Linked DNA regions of Homo sapiens: region 1 is linked to region 2. Evidence: promoter capture Hi-C in 16 types of primary human blood cells and fetal thymus (Javierre and others, 2016). All regions are on one chromosome and are shown on one strand. Each heading gives the region's core, a stretch centred on a gene start or on the middle of the fragment in contact. The rest is flanking DNA. Distances are from core to core; before and after follow the strand shown.

Evidence for each region. Contacts are between HindIII fragments. The CHiCAGO score rates a contact against its expected background, and 5 or more counts as called.
Region 1: the fragment with the promoter of PDE7B-AS1 here is called in contact with a fragment that was not itself captured in region 2 in 3 of 17 cell types (endothelial precursors, fetal thymus and M1 macrophages); the score reaches 10.5 in endothelial precursors.

Annotation. Positions count from the first base shown.
Region 1 is chr6:136,071,384-136,074,305 of GRCh38, reverse strand. PDE7B-AS1 (PDE7B antisense RNA 1) reads left to right here and starts at 1,479. Exons shown (of 4, transcript NR_149042.1): 1 at 1,479-1,757. All of the region lies in intron 2 of PDE7B (phosphodiesterase 7B), which reads right to left. The HindIII fragment of the contact is 8,353 bases long and covers 1-1,738 here.
Region 2 is chr6:135,502,912-135,505,872 of GRCh38, reverse strand. The region is part of intron 2 of AHI1-DT (AHI1 divergent transcript); the gene reads right to left. Among named protein-coding and RNA genes, the nearest start is that of AHI1-DT, 6.6 kb to the right of the region's middle. The HindIII fragment of the contact is 1,635 bases long and covers 681-2,315 here.

The sequences.
Region 1 (2,922 bases), core at 230-2,729, 570 kb before region 2:
CCCACAAAAATTAAAAATTAAAAAACCCTTAAACAACAAAAAAACCCCAAATCCCCCCCGCCTTTTTTTTTTTTTGAGACAAGGTCTCTCTGTCACCCAGGATAGAGTGCAGTGGTGCGATCTTGGCTCACTGCAACATCCACCTCCTGGGTTCAAATGATTCTTTTACCTCAGGTAATTCTTTTACCCAAGTAGCTGGGATTACAGGTGTGTGCCACCGTGCCCAGTTCATTTTTTTGTATTTTTAGTACAGACAGGGTTTCACCATGTTGGCCAGGCTGGCCAAATTCCTTTTTGTCATAGGAACGAGATAGGCATAAATTCTCCACGAAGGAATTATTTCTATTGGAAAGAATATGGGAACTAAATTTTTTTATTTGCTTCAGATATGGGACTTTTGGTGAAATTTCAGTTTTCTGCGCATTGTACTTTCACAACAAGTTTTTAGAAATCACGCTGAAATTCTCAACTGAGAGATACGTATCATGATCAACCTTTGCCACTTATACTCTGATACATGTGGTGGTGTATTTCCAGATTTTTACTATGTGTGGCTGTAAAAATGCTGTTATGGGCTAGAGTGTGTCCCCTGCCAAATTCGTATGTTAAAATCCTAACCCAAGCACCTCAGAATGTGACCTATATGGAGATGGGGTCTTTTAAAAGGCAGTTAAGTTAGATGAGGCCACTGGAGTAGGCCCTAATCCATTATGACTAGTGCACTTGTATGAAGAGAAAATTAGGACACAGGCCCAGAGGGAAGACCATAGAAGTGACATCTACAAGCCGAGGGGAGAGGCCTCAGAAGAAACCAACTCCACAGATGCCTTGATCCTGGACTTTCAGCCTGTAAGACTGTGAGAAAATCAGTTTCTGTTGTTTAAGCCATTGAGTTTATGGTGCTGTGTTATGACAGCCTTAGCTGATTAAGACATATGCCCGTAATTTTATGACTCAGTAAAGAAAATATTCACTTTTACTTAATTAACCCAATCATGTTCTTTACACACAAAGAAGGAGTCTTTCAGATCTGTTACCCCAGGACCTGTCACAATGCATGGCGTACGGAGGCACTCTGTGCACACGTTGAGTTTATGGACTGTCCCTGAATGTCATTCAGATGGAGGACTTTGCTTGTGGCCCTAGTTGTGTGATATGAACAGACTTCAGCATGGCCATCCCTGCCGACGCCACCATCTCAGATATTCCATCAATGCTCCTTAGCCCCGAGAGCAGGCCAAAAAGACAAAGAACATGGTCTCCAAGCGGCCCAGCCCCAAGCAACACAACTCCCTGGGGTTTCTCCAAAAAGAGAAGGGTGCGTTGAGTGGCTCTTAGCTGTTCCTACCAGGATATACAGGTGAGCCAAGAAAAACCACATGGCTAGCTTTATCAGGAGCTGCTGACAGGCCTGAAAGATCCAAAACGGACACCTGACCCATGTGACTGTTGTCAGAACACTATCCACCATGGCAACCAGGCCAGTTTCCATCGCACATGTGTCCCGCAGCTCCACCGAAAAGGATCAAGAAAGTCAGGATTCTAAATACCAACAGCATCACTCTGTCAAAACCACCCTTGCAACCTTTCTCAGAAAAGGAAATGTAATGACAAGATGAAAGTTAGCCAGAACGGCCATGTCCAGAAAAGCTCTCAGTAGTACAGCCATCTGTCCGAAATACTCTAACCTACAAGGTGGCCACGGTCTCTTCAGAGGGTCATGGAGCTCTGCAAAGCTTGTCTTAAAACTGATTAAGGTAAAATAGTTATTAGAAGACATCTTTTTCTTTCTTAAGATCAATAGAAAAATAAACAGGGCTGGGCAAGGTGGCTTACACCCAGAATCCCAGCACTTTAGTAGGCCAGGGCAGGAGGATCGCTTGAGCCCAGGAGTTCAAGAGCAGCCTGGGCAACACAGCAAGAACTCATCTCTACTTAAAAAACAAAATTAAAGTATCAGCTATGCCATGAGCTATCTAACCAGGTGCCCCTCTCCCACCATTTCCTCTCCCTGTACCCTGTTTAGGTCCTTCACAGAACTTAGGACAATTTCGATTTGTCTTTCTCTCTCCTCGCCTCCCCGCCTATTTATTTTCTGTTTTCCCCATTAAGGGCAGGAACTGTGTTTATTGTATTTGCCATTATATATTCAAGACAAATTATGATGCCTGCTACATAATAAATGCTCAATAAATATTTGTAGAATGACTGACTGAATGAAAAAAATGTTAAAGGGGACTGAGGGAAGAAGCTAAAATATATTTAGTTTTTGTGCTGTGTACCTTTTAAGGCACTGTTGTAGGGTCACCTCATTTAATTCTTAAAACATAATAGATGCTTAATAAATATTTTTAGAATGACTAACTGAAGGAAAAAAATGTTAATGGAAACCAAGGAAAAAAGCTAAAATACATTTACTTGTTACTGCACTGTGTACCTTGTTAGGCATTGTTATATGATCATGTCATTTAATCCTTAAAACATTAGAATGCTGCACTCATTTATTAATTTATTGAGTGGAATCTTGCTCAGTTGCCCAGGCTGGAGTGCAGTGGTGTGATCATAGCTCAGTGAAGCCTCGAACTTTTGGCCTCAAGCGATCCTCCCACCTTAGCCTCCCTAGTAGCTGGGACTACAGGCATGCACCACTACACTTGGCTAGAGTGATATAATTTTAACATAATTTTTCCAGTAAGAAAACTGACATCCAGAGAAGTTTATAATTTCTTGGTGTTTCTGTAATGGTGAAATGAACTATCTCTCTGTTGCCTTTCTAGCACTTTGAAAATAAAATTCTCAATACTTCAGAATTAAACTTATGTATACACACGTGTGTGTGTGTTTCCAGTTTACTTTTCCTCTTGTCCAACCTTTCTGATATGTTAGTGATTCTGAACTTTGTGCAATGCTGAGGTGAAGGCT
Region 2 (2,961 bases), core at 249-2,748:
CTTGCTGATGCCAGGAATGTAGTCTTAGAATGCAATGGCCTCCCAAAGCATAGGATTCAAGGCCTTGCTCAGTGTGAGAACTAAGATGTTTGCATAAAAGTGGAACCCTTAAAAGATTACAGCAGCAAAGATAAACAAGGAAGTTTGTTTGTAGGGGCTAAAGTTCAGGTAGAGAAAAAAAAAATCTTCCCTCAAAATTATAACCATATCCTCTGTTTCATAGGATTTGGGTTCGAACCTATAGTAATCTGATAGGTTGGATATGGGGTATAAGAAAAGGAGAAAGGTCAAAGGTTATGATAAAAGAAAAACTTTAACTGAATTAAATTTAAAGGAATTTAATTGAGCAGTGAATGATTTGCAAATCAGACAGCCTTCCCAGACAGAGTAGGCTCGGAGACTCCAGCGCAGCCATGTGCTGGAAGATTTATGGACAGAAAAAGGAGTGAGGCACAGAAAATGGAAGTGAGGTACAGAACCAGCTGGATTGGTTACAGCTTTGTGTTTGCCTTATTTAAACATGGTTTGAATAGTTGACGACATTTGATTGGCCAAAACTTGGTGATTGGCCCAAGTGTAGGCTACATCTGGTTACACTTCTACTTGTTATAGTTTAAGATGTACAAAGAAACATTTAGGCTGAATTTAAAATATGTAAGGAGGTAGTTTTAGGCTAAGCTTGATTTAACAGTTACTCCAATGTATTTGGTGTTTGGCTTGAGTAACTGGAAGAATGGAGTTGTCATTGCTTGAGATGGAGAAAGTGGGGATTTGAGGAGGCAGATGAGGAATTCAGTGTTAGAAAAGTTAAGTTTGAGAATATGTCGGACATCTAAGTGGAGACATGTAATATACAGTTAGATTTATGAGTCTGAAGTTCAAGGAAGAATAATGGGCAGAAGGGATATATTTGGGAGTAGTCTACATGACAGTGGGACTATAGAACTGTAAGAAATCACTGAGTGAGTACGTGTAGATAGAGAAGTCCAGGAACATACCTCTGGGACATTCCAATATCAAGAGGTCAAGGTGATAGGCATGAACTAGTAAAGGAGCCCTAGAAAGAGGAAAAGCAGGAAAATGTGCAATCACCGGTTAGAAAATGTAATAAGAATTGGATGCATTCAAAATAGCACCAAAAATCTATAAAATGCTGAGGAATAAATAATAATATGAGAGACTTATAAGAAAAGTATCTTATTTTTTAAAAGCCACCATATCACCTTTTGACACTTTCACTATAATTGCTTAAAAACACTTTGGATTAGAAGTGATATAGCATAAAGCCATTAAAATGAATGGGGTAGATATATGTTACTGACATAAAAAGCCTTTTAGAAATAATAATACTTGATAAAGGACAAAAACAAGATGACAGGACAAAATCTATGGTAAGAAGTTATCTTTATAATTTAGTATATTTAGTATATGTATGAATGGAAGTATGAAAGAATGTATAGAAGACTGATCAGTGATTAAAAACACGGCTGACTTTCGGTTACCACATTATAAATATCTGAACGATTGTTTGAAATTTTTCCACGTGCACATAAGAACATTACTAACAAAGTTAGAATTTCCAGTGATGATTAAGTGGTGATATATACAGCATCTCCTTCTTATCTGCATGGGATATGTTCCAAGATCCCCAGTGGATGTCTGAAACTACAGGTAGTAGCAAAGCCTGTATTTACTATACTTGCATGCCTTTCTCAAAGTCAAATAAAACATAGAGTCAAATTTCCACATTTCAAACATTTTATTTGGGAAATGAGAATTGCATTTCCAGGCAAACACACAGAATGGGTGGTCTTCAGTATGTCTGAAAAACAAAGATCAGGTTGGAGGTTTTATAAAAAGGAAAAATGTTACCCATTGTTTTGCAAAGAAACAATGGGTAACATTTGGGGAGCTGGCGAGCTCTGATTGGCGAGTGATGGCAGTGGGTAAAACTAATCTTAGTGTCACAGCAGGTTATTTCATTAGCTATCAGATAAAACTGATTTCAGATTACAACAGGCAGTTTCAGTAGCTGGGCTTGTGGAAAATTTAATTCTTGGAGCAGATGCTATATGCCCCAAATGCTTTTTCCCCTGGGCCCTTCACTCTGATTTAGTTGGGTACAACAAGAATGACCCAATTTCTATAATCAACTTTCACACCTCTCATAAAGTTTAATTTATAAATTAGGCCCAGTAAGAGATTAACAGCAATAACTAATAACAATATAAAGTTTTTATAACAATATACTGTATTAATAGTTATTATGTAAATGTAATCTCTTATTTTCTCTCTAAAAATTTTCAAACCAAGCTTGTTGAGTGAAACCTCAGAAAGCAAAACCATGGTTAAGGGGGCACTATTGTAATAGCATGGAAATGAAATTGCAACATAATGTTCATTCAAGTAAGCAGAAATAAACATTTTACACACAACATGACCAAAATTAAAATACGCATGGAAAACAGACTGAAACGAAATTTGTCAAAAAAGTTAATTTAGATTCTCTTGGGTAGTGGTATTGAGTATTTTTTCCTTTTTTTCATGATTCTACATATTTCAAATTATCTATAATACATATATTCTTACTTTTATTTTTCCTGCTTATTATAAAAATTTCCAAACACACAAAGGAAAAAGTATAATGAAATACTAGGTACCTACCAGCCAGCTTCAACAACCATCAAAATTTAGATATACATGTGTCATTTCCTCTCACCTTTTAAAAAAATCTAGAATATTTTAAAGCAAATCCTGGACACCTTATCATTCTGTTCTGTGCACGTAAGTCATACTCTACATAACCACACCAACATTATTTTACCTAATGAAATTAATAAACATTTCTTAACATCTTCTAAATATTTAGCCCATAACAAAAAATCTGATTGCCTAAAACATGTTTTTCTATAGTTGGTTTATTTAAATTAGAATCCAAACAAGGCCCATTCATTCCATCTG